Regions from separate parts of the Homo sapiens genome. Here region 1 is linked to region 2. The links are contacts of gene promoters, found by promoter capture Hi-C in human tissues and cell types (Jung and others, 2019). All regions are on one chromosome and are shown on one strand. The core of a region is centred on a gene start or on the middle of the fragment in contact, and the rest is flanking DNA. Distances in the headings are between cores, read along the strand shown. Region 1 has its middle 41 kb from the start of SNORD12. Region 2 holds the start of SPATA2 (spermatogenesis associated 2).

Region 1 (5,212 bases), core at 2,594-5,093, 590 kb before region 2:
GGGCAAGGAGGGACGCAGACACTCAGGACCTAAAGGGGAAGCACTGGCTGTGGAGCTGCGAGCCGAGAAAGACGCGCAGGTTATGAACCTGGGTGCGTTCATCTCGGGGGACCTGAAGGAGAGGGACTCGTGGAGAGTTGAGGGGTGTTTCGGAGGAGGGGCGCAAGGACTGCTCACAGGACTTGAAGGGCGGCAGGAAGGTGGAGGATTCGGCCCAGGTGCGGGACGCAGGCGGTGGAAGGGAAATGAGCACAAGAGGCGCAGGCAGGAAGGAGAGCGCCTGGTGCGAGAGAGGAAGGAGCGCACCCAGTAAGCGGTGTCGGGGGGGTCGTGAAGCTTGGAGGGCCTCGAGGGGAGGGAGGCGCTTGGGTTGAGGTAGGGCGCCAGATTTCGCAAATCAAAATACAGCACACCCAGTTAAACTCGAATTTCAGATAAACAAATCTTTCTAGAGAAAAATATGTCCTAAATATCGCATGGGATATACTTATACTAAAAAATTATTTGTTGTTTTTCTGAAATTGAAATCTAACTCGGAGTCCTGTATTTTATCTGAGAGCCCCAGCTGGGGACGGGCGCGGGGCCAAGAGAGCTGCGAGGGAGGAGGGGTTGCAAGCTTCTTTCGGGCGGAGGGGTCACAAGGCGAATGGAGAAGGTGACAAGGAGCATGGAGAAACCAAGAAAAGGGCTAACGCTTGGAGAGCAAGGATGGAAAGACGCTCAAAGCGGAGGCGGAACGGTCTGAGTGATTCCAAAACTAGTGTGTCCAAGCTGGTTAGAACTCAGGCAGGCGGGTCCAGAAGCCGAGGGGCCTGACAGATACGCAGGTGAAGTCCATCTGTGGTCCGCGTGCTGGGCGTGGCCACCGGGCTAGTCCAAGCATTCCTGGTAAAGGCTCCTCCAGAGTGGTACCCACAGCGCTCTATTAAGGGCTATTTTAGTTGAGTCATTAGTGGGAAGGACGCTGCCTATCCCCTCCCCCCCCGCCACCCCACTCCCTTCTTCTAGAGATGGAGCCTTGCTCTGTCGCCCAGGCTGGAGTGCCGTGGTGCGATCATCATTCACTGCAGCCTCGAACTCCTGGGCTCAAGCGATTCTTCTGCCTCAGCCTCCCAAGTAGCTGGATGACAGGCACGCACCACCATGTCTGGCTCTCTATCCTTTTTAAATCCCAGAAGTAAAGTTTTCACACCCACTGGAGACAAAAAAAAAATCTAAATTCTGTCACCCTGTAAAACGGTTATGACCCAACTTTCCTATGTCAGGGAGGAAAGTGATTGATTGGGCCCCTCTACCGTGTGATATCACTAGAGCTTCCTTCAGAAATTTGTTTTAAAAGACAGAGAGGGCGCTTTTAAAAAAATGCATAATGGGTCGGGCACAGTGGCTCATGCTTGTAATCCCAACACTTGGGGAGGCTGTGGGAGGATCATTTGAGGCCAGGAGTTCGAGACCAGCCTGGGCAATATTGGAAGACCCAGTCTCTACAAAAAATTAAAAAAAAATTAGCCTCAAATGGTGATGACTGCCTGTAGCACCAGCTACTCAGGAGACTGAGGTGGGAGAATCACTTGAGCCCAGGAGGTTGAGCCTGCAGTGAGCTATGATTATGCCACTGCACTCCAGCCTGGGTGACAGAGCGAGATCATGTCTCAAAAATAAATAAATAAATAAATAAATAAATAAAAATGTAAGGGACCTAACATCCATTAATCACCTATCCCTCTGTGCCCAGAAGCTGGGCTGGATGTCCCCTGGAACCTGAATACATTCTCCCTGCCCTCTGGGGTTCAGGTATGGAATAACATCCCTGTTTAGCAGTCAAGAAAAGCAAGGCTCAGAGAGGAGAGGGCTTTGGGCAGTCAAGAATTCCCAGCCAGTGGAGGAGCTGGGTCTGATTCTGAGTCTTCTAGCTCCTTGCTGCCAGGAGTGGCCAACGTTGGAAATTCAGGCAGCAGTGAGATGAGAAAGTAATTTTGGATGTGGTGTCTTCTCAAGCCATAGGCAAAAGAGAACTCCTTCCAGATTAAATTTGGGGAAGGACTGCCTGGGGGTGCTTTTGTACTGGTTGGTTTTCTGTGTAGAGAGTTCATGCAGCCGCGGGTCTGTACTGATTGGAGCTGAAGTCCCAGGTTAGCACCACCAACAGGGGCTCCCCTGCCACAGCGCAGGAGTGGGGGCCCAGGATGGGTCCAGGCAAAGGCATCAGTGATACTTTCTCATGGTCTGACCGACACCCACAGAATCACACAATGTTAGCCCCTCCCAAGAGATGTCCTTTCTATACGGAGTGGGGGCTGGAGGAACCAGGAGCCTCAAAGCTTTGCTTTCACCTTTGTTTTGCTCTTTTGGGATCTGCCTCCTTATCTGGAGCAGGGTCTTGTGAAGAGACGCAGGGAAAAGTTCACTTTCCACCTCCCAGGGGAGCAGGCAGGAGGGGACTAGTTAGGAGGCAAAAGATGTAGAGAAGTATTTGCTTTTTTCATGGGCTATTTTTAGGAGATAAAGTCAACTGCCTTAAGTGATCAATTGTAATAGAGGGAGATGTTGAAGATGACTTAAAAAACAAACAAAATCCGCAAACAACAAATCTAATATTTATGAAATACCAAATGTCAGGAAGGTACTATTTTAAGTGCTTGAAGTAAATTGTCTCATTTAAGCCTCATAATAACGCTATGGAACAGTGTTATCATGTCTGTTTTACAGATGAGGAACTAAGGCACAGAGAGGTTAAGTGACGTGTTCTGGGTTGCACAGCTCTTAAACAGCAGATCTGGGATTTGCACTCCAGCAGTCTGACTCCAGATCTCAATATTGTATAGCAGCTCAAGGGTGGCAGAGACTCAAGAATGTTAGGAGAGGGAAGCTTGAGTCTACAGGTGTAAGGAGACCCCTTGACATCTTCCCCATTTAGTTCAATTAAAATTTTCTTTTTTTTTCTTTTTCTTTCTTTCCTTCCTTCTCTCTTTTCTTTTCTTTTTCTCTCTCTCTTTCTTCCTTCCTTTCTTTTTATTTTTCAGGGTTTCACTGTGTCACCCAGGCTGGAGTGCAGTGGTGCAATCATGGCTCACTGCAACCTCTGCCTCCCAGGCTCAAGTGATCCTCCTACCTCAGTCTCCTGAGTAGCTGGGACTACAGGTGTGGGCCACCACACCCAGCTTTTTTTTTTTTTTTTTTTTTTTTTTTTTGTATTTTTTGTAGAGATGGAGTTTTACCATCTTTTCCAGGCTGGTCTCAAACTCCTGGGCTCAAGCTATCCTCCAGCCTTGGCCTCCCAAAGTGCTGGAATTACCAGTGTGAGCCTCCACACCCAGCCTCAATTACAATTGGTGGCCACCTTCTGTGTGCCCAATTCAGCTAGAAGCACTGGGGGATGGAAGCAAGGCTGGAGTTCTGGTACCCCTCAAGCTTATTGTCTATTTTTGGGAGACAAGGTAGTTGGGAAAGGAATAAATAATTTCAGTCTGAGCAAGGTGAAGCTTGGAAATGATTGGTGAGGATGGTGTGGAGGCAGGGAGAGAGTGGGGCTGGAGTGATTAGTAAGGCCTTGAAAGATAGACACCACTGTATTTTCCAAGTTATTTACAGAATGTTTCCATGTATTCTATACTTCTTAAATATCATCTCAACCCTGTATGGTTGATGTCCCTACATATACACTTATGTGTTTCCTGTAGACTTAGTACTCTTAGGGTTGTGACACAATTTAACTTAAGTTAACAAGGATATTTATTGGCTTAGGTAACTAAAGAACAACCCAGGGATTCCAGAGCTTCAGGCATGACTGGATCCAGGGGCTCCAAGGATGTCATCAGGACTCTATCTCTTTCCATTCTTCGGCTTTTCTTGTGTTAACTTCATTTACAGGCATGCTGTCACCAAGTGGTAGCAAAGCTAGTGGTCAAAGACAGTAGCTGTAAACTGCCATCCTTAATGGATTGAGAGCATTTTTCCCCAGTTCCAGCCAAAATCCCAGGGCTGGTTCTCATGGGCTCAGTTTGGATTAAATGGTCATTGCTGACCCAATCAATCACTGAACCCAGGGAGAAGGAATATATCAACTGGCCATGTGGGGGTCACCTGCCTCATACCAGGAACGAGAGGGTGCGATCAGCCCTGTCCAAACCATGTGGATTGAGAGTGGGGAGTTTTGGTTTCTCAGAAGAAAACTGAGGTGGTATTCCCAGAAGATGGGGGAAAGGAGGCTGGGAGGGTACTACTCAGCTGTGGGAGACCACGTGCTTTGGGAAACTTTGGGTAAAGTGTGCTGAGATGTTGAATAGGAGGAGGGCACGGTAAATGACTGTGGATGAGTTGCAGGAAAATGTAGATTTTTAGCCACTGAGCTTGGGGGTCTCCATCTATGATCCACTGTCAAAAAAGATCCTTCGTGAACCCCCTCAATAGGAGATGGGAACCACTGAGGGATTTCAGGGAACAGGCCAGAACTGTATTCTAGAAAATCCTTTTGGTAGACAATAAGGAGGGCAGATGGTAAGGAGGCTGGGCAGTGTGGTTCAGAGGAGAAAGCGGGGTTTGGATAATGCAGAAAGACATTCCTTGGCTGGGCCCCGTGGCTCATGCCAGCATTTTGAGAGGCTGAGGTGGGTGGATCACAAGGTCAGGAGTTTGAGACCAGCCTGGCCAACATAGTGAAACCCTGTCTCTACTAAAAATACAAAAATTAGCTGGGTGTGGTGGCACGTGCCTATAGTCCCAGCTACTCCGGAGGCTGAGGCAGGAGGATCGTTTGAACCTGGGAGGCGGAGGTTGCAGGGAGCCGAGATGGTGCCACTGCACTCCAGCCTGGGCGACAGAGAGAGACTCCATCTTAAAAAAAAAAAAAAAAAAAAAAAAAGGTGTTCCTTCATGAGCCTGGGCCTGTAAGGGTGGGGTGAAGCGATTCTAAGGGGTCTGTGGGAAATGTGGTCTGGCCATGGCAGGCTCAGCTGGCACGATGTCATCTGGGTATCCAGGACTCAGTGAGCAGCCTTACCACCGCCCTACCCCTTTCTGTAAGGCTGGGAAGCTAGAATTTCTTCTTTGGTCAGGAAAAGTGGGCTGGGCTTTGCTTTGAGAAACACTGCTATCTGGTGTTGCCTTTTTGCAATGTCAGCCTGTGGTTATATTTCCTTTGTTGTTGCTAAGGCAAGATTTGCTCACTCATTGTTCAGTGGCACATCACTTCCTGAGTTGCTGTGTGCCAGGC
Region 2 (5,238 bases), core at 2,286-4,785:
TGGGGATGGGTGGGACAGGTAGAGGACAGCAATAAAGGAGACACATCCTGCCTGCAGCTCTAGCTGGAAGAGCATACCACCTAGTATCAAAGTAGGTATGTGCTCTAACTTCATACTGTTCTGTCCATAAAAAAATAAACAATTTAAAATGTATATTCTCTTAAAAAATAAAAATGCAGGCCAGGCGCGGTGGCTCACGCCTGTAATCCTACAACTCTGGGAGGCCAAGGTGGGTGGATCGCCTGAGATTGGGAGTTTGAGACTAGCCTGGCCAACATAGCGAAACCCCGCCTCTACTAAAAATACAAAAATTAGCTGGACGAACACCTGTAATCCCAGCTACTCAGGAGGCTGAGGCAGGAGAATGGCGTGAACCCAGGAGGGAGAGGTTGCAGTGAGCTGAGATCGTGCCATTGCACTCCAGCCTGGGCAACAGAGCAAAAACTCCATCTCTACATAAATAAATGTATTGCACCACTGGAGAGGATAGTCACACATGCATTTACCATTCTTGACTTATCTAAGAGAAGCTGCCATCACGCCTCTGGCCCCAGGGTCTGTTTTTTGGTAGTCTGAGAACCATTCAAACACAGAGACATTAAGCTTCCGAATACTGCTGTAATTTTTCTCCAAGGAAGTCAGCCTTGAACTCAAAGAGACTGATTTTTTACAAAGTCAGCCAGTCTCAAGCTCGGCTCAGCGTCTGCTGCTCTATAATCGCACCACAGTCCACACCCTTGTTTGTTGCTGAAAAACAATAAATAAAGGAAAGGGATCCAAACAGCCCAGCTGATGTTCAAAATACTCACAATAAGGACAGGAAGCCTATCTAAAACAAATCTCAAACCAACCTGGGTAGGTGAGGGAAAAGGCGGAAGAAAGTAAAAGCTAAAAGATAATTAAGGGCAAGACAAGCCTGGACAACATAGTTAGACTCCGTCTCTACAAAAAAAAAAAAAAAAAAAATTAGGTGGGTGTGGTGACACCCACCTGTAGTCTTAGCTACTTGGGAGTCTGAGGTGGGGGGATCCACTGAGCCCAGGAGTTTGAGGCTGCAGTGAGCTATGATGGCACCACTGCACTCCGGCCTGGGTGACAGAGCAAGACCTTGTCTCAATCAGTCAATAAGGAAAGGAAAGAAAGAGACTAACAATTACTGAGGTTCTACTATGTGCTAAGCATTGGGCTTCCCACTTTACCTACATCATCCCATTTAATCCTCACAACTCTATAAGGAAAACAGGCTCTTCCCATTAAAACAACCTGCCCAACAGAGTTTGAAAGGGTCAGAGCTGGAATCTGAACTCTTGCTGGGAGGCCCTTGATGCCTGGGCTTTCTCCAATTTACCTCACTCATTTATTGTTACATCAGTACCATTTACCAAGGGATTACTGTGTGGCATCCCTCTGCTAACTGCTCTGTGAAAACCAATGAAATCCACAGGATAGATCCAAGGTTAAAGAGGAAACTGAGGCTCGGAGAGGCCAACTCACTTACCCTAAGTCGTAAGGCTAGGAAGAAGTGGATCTGAGCTCTGAACCTAGGTCTAACGCCAAAACTCCGACTCTTGCAAAGCCATCCTGCTGCATCTGCTGGACAGCTCTACTCGAAAGTGTTTGGCTAAGTTAGAATGCCTTATGGCGGCGCGAGCAGAGTTGAGTTACAAAAATTCCTGTAGTAGCAAAATTCCCATCTTCCCACACCGAATGGGGCTAGGAGAGCTAATCTCTATATGATGTAAGCTCAAGGGCCAAGGAAAGAGGCTGGTCAGAGACATCGGCCAGTGATGAAGCAGCTGACATCATCCCTGCTGAAAACATTTTCTGAGAATACAAGATGCCTTGTAGCTGGTCATAGCTGGTGTTTTTTCTGAGCACAGAGCCAGCAATTCATTCCCAGCACTCTGCAAGAACAACAAAATACGCTCTCTGCAAAAACATCGTGGTTACAGGAGACCGAGACAGCCCAGCGACAGAAGCTGCTAATTTCTCCAAGCAACCCAAGGATTGGAACGCCAAGCCGTGCCAGTCTGGTGGAAAAAAAAAAAAAAAAAAACCCAAAAAACAAAAAAACAGCACTGTGAATATCCTGAACACAGAGACAGGCAGGTGCCCAGAGTCAACGGCTCCAGTCAGCACCTCCTGCACCCACAATCTAGGTACCTTCTTGAAAAGCAAGTCAATGGAAAAAGAGATATTGCACAGTCAGGGAGCCAGTGGCTTCTTTAGTTATTTTTTGAACATCTAAGAGGAAAGCTGTATCTGTTTAGAGTCCCACTGCATGGAAGTGAAGTGATTCCGAGTAGCTAAGCATTAGCTTGGCTTTACCTCAGCTGGCCCATTCAAGCAGAAATGTTCCCCAAGCAGCATTTGAAGGCGCCCCCTCTCTGCACAGGCAGACCTATTTTGGTCTGTGCACTGCCCCTGTCCACAGGTTTACACATCCCTGGTCTAGCTCCATCAGCCTCCAAACAGGAGACGGGGAAGTCAGTTCAACCCCCTCCACCTCCCCACCCACACCAATGCACTCGTTCCAAGCAAGAGGCTCCGAGAAACATCCAAGGCACCTTCCACTGGCTGTGAAACACCAGAAGGTCCCCACACTCCTACTAGATTCCAAAGAAATTCACACAGAGTCCTTCCAAACCTCTGAAAATAACCTCAGCGGTGCTGAAAGAAGCTTCCCTAGTGGCAGCTGCCTCTCTCGGAGAAGCTCTGAAGGAAGCTGTTTCCCTCCCTGCAGGGGACAGAAGCTGGCGGCTGCTAAGTCCCAGCTCGGTCATTCCTACAGCCTCGGGGGGCCACGTCAGTTGTGAAAAACAGCCCAGTCTCAAATTCTGGCCCCCCCTACGGCTTCGTGAATTGAATGAAGTAACAGGAACTATCACTTATTGGACGCCTGCTGTATGCCAGAGGCCCTGCATGATCTCATTCCATCTCCACTCCAGCCCTAGCAACCAGGTTCAATCACTTAAATAGGCAACTGAGGCTCTTAAGATGAAGTGACTTATCCAAGGTCACACAGTGAGTACAAACCCAGGTGTGCCGCCAGAGCCTGAACTGGGAACCCCTGCGCGGTAACTGCCTCGTGGCGAAATCGGGGTGTCCTTCTGTTTGGCCAGTCGCCGAAGAGGGGTGTTCCTCTTGGGCGGCCCTGAGCCACCCTCGGCGGGTCCCAGGAGCCTGCGAGGCAGCTCCCGGGAGAATGGGGGTCCTGAGGATAGGCTGGGGGTCCCGGGAGCGCCGAAACAGCGGGCCCACCTGTAGTCCTGCCTGCCGTGAGGGTACCCCGCTCCCGGGCCAGCCGAGCCCTGCCGCTGTCTGGCGCCCCCTCCGCCTGGGGAAGCCCCGAAGGCAGTTTCCGCCCGCGGCCGCCCGTCACTCACCCTGACACTGCCGCCGAGGACGGCCCGGCCGAGGGAAGCAAGCGAGAGGCGCGGCTGCCGCCGGAGCCGGGCCCCGTCGGGCTCTAGCCTCTCCGGCCGGCTGCAGGGGTACTGAGACCAGTACCCGGGGGCCAGCAGCGACCCGGAAACACTCGGCCCGGAAATGATGTCACCATGAGGCGGGCCCGAAGAGAGGGTGGACCACGGCTGCGCGCTGGCTCCGGGAAGCGGTCGATGCCCGCGGCCGACGGAGACTACAACCCAGAGGCGGAGGACAAAGCGGAAGGCCGAAGAGCGAGGACGAAACCGGCGGAACCGCACTTTGGAGCCTAACGAGCCATCGCTGCGTCTGAGACTGGGACCCGGAAGTAAACAGGCCGGACGTGACGCAAGCCGCTCGGCCTAGGGATGGTGGCTGGCCGGGTTGTCATGGAAACCGCTCAGGAGCAGGGAGCTGGGAGCTATGAGTGCTGACTGCGTGAACTCGGCCTCCACTTCCCGGACCTGCCACTTATCATGATCCACGAGCTGTACTCATGACTCCGCACAAGCAAGCAGGGGCTGACGGTCGGATCCCTCGCCCCCATTTTACGGACAGAAGTACCGAGGCTCAAAGAGAGCCAGTGAGATGCTGAAATCACGCGTGATTGGAATCCAGCCTTGCTAGGGCTGCGGGTGTTACGGGCCGTGGGCGGCGGTTAAGAGCGTGGGTTCTATTTTTAGTTTTGCCACTTACTAGCTGTGTGACCTTGGACAAGTTACCTAACCTCTCTGAGCCTCAGCTTTCTAACCTGTAATATTAAATAATAAAGCCAGGCGTGGTGGCACGCGACTGTAGTCCCAGCTAGTCGGGAGGCTGAGGCGAGAGGATGGCTTGCTCCCAGGTGTTCGAGACCAACCTGGGCAACATAACGAGGCCACGTCTCTTAAAAAAAAAAAAAAAAAAAAAAAAAAAAAAAAGCCGGGCACGGCGGCTCACGCCTGTAATCCCAGCACTTTCGGATAAACTATATATATATATAATCTGACATCCCCACCAGACCCTGAGCTTCTTATTCATCTATTTCCCCCCGAGCTCTGCACATGTCTGATGAGGAGGCACACAACAGATGTTCATTGATTGTAGGATTCTCACTCTGAGTCTTGGTGACCCCAGCTAAAACCGGTGGGGCTTGTGTGATGAGTCAGTGACACAATACTGGGAAACGTTTGGAGAACCAGCAATCTGCTGCTGTCCAAACAGTAGCATTACTGTGTTTACCTGTCGTTGCCTGAGCACCGCTCAAAGTCCCTGTGTTCTTTATCAGCTCATGTTTAAGCTCCTCTCTTAATTATCTGCAATGTGATGATGTTCACAGGAATTCCATCTGAGACAAACTGTCCCACCTTAAGTCTGCCTCTTACAGCAACTCAGCACTCTGGTTTGGTAGCTCTTACAATATTGCATTTTCACGTGGGGCTGCTTAAAAAAGTCCCCTCCAGCTCTGTGGGTCTATGACAGGCAAAAGAGAAACAAAGATTTTGAAGAAGGGCTTTACCAGTAGGAAACCCTGGTCATCATCTACTATCAGAAAAGACCCAAAGTCTCCAAAGACAGTCACATTTCTCAGTTTTTTTTTTTTTTTTTTTTTTTTTTGAGACGGAGTCTCGCTCTGTCACCCAGGCTGGAGTGCAGTGGCACAATCTCAGCTCACTGCAAGCTCCGCCTCCTGGGTTCACGCCATTTTCCTGCCTCAGCCTCCGGAGTAGCTGGGACTACCGGCACGCGCCAACACGCCTGGCTAATTTTTTGTATTTTTAGTAGAGATGGGGTTTCACCAAGGTGGTCAGGATGGTCTCCATCTCTTGACCT

What was found. Contacts are between HindIII fragments. The study calls those that stand out against the background at their distance.
Region 1: a contact is called between a fragment that was not itself captured here and the fragment with the promoter of SPATA2 in region 2, in 2 of the 25 tissues and cell types used here (H1 embryonic stem cells and lymphoblastoid cells).

Annotation. Positions count from the first base shown.
Region 1 is chr20:49,318,784-49,323,995 of GRCh38, forward strand. No RefSeq gene overlaps it. Among named protein-coding and RNA genes, the nearest start is that of SNORD12, 41 kb to the left of the region's middle. RefSeq lists enhancers at 1-252, 253-834, 4,945-5,212. The HindIII fragment of the contact is 6,734 bases long and covers 477-5,212 here.
Region 2 is chr20:49,911,994-49,917,231 of GRCh38, forward strand. SPATA2 (spermatogenesis associated 2) reads right to left here and starts at 3,536. Exons shown (of 3, transcript NM_006038.4): 1 at 3,387-3,536. It overlaps LOC105372653 (a long non-coding RNA gene), which reads left to right and starts at 3,829. Exons shown (of 3, transcript NR_134564.1): 1 at 3,829-4,092. RefSeq lists enhancers at 2,554-2,723, 3,518-3,577 and a silencer at 3,238-3,487. The HindIII fragment of the contact is 5,477 bases long and covers 1,642-5,238 here.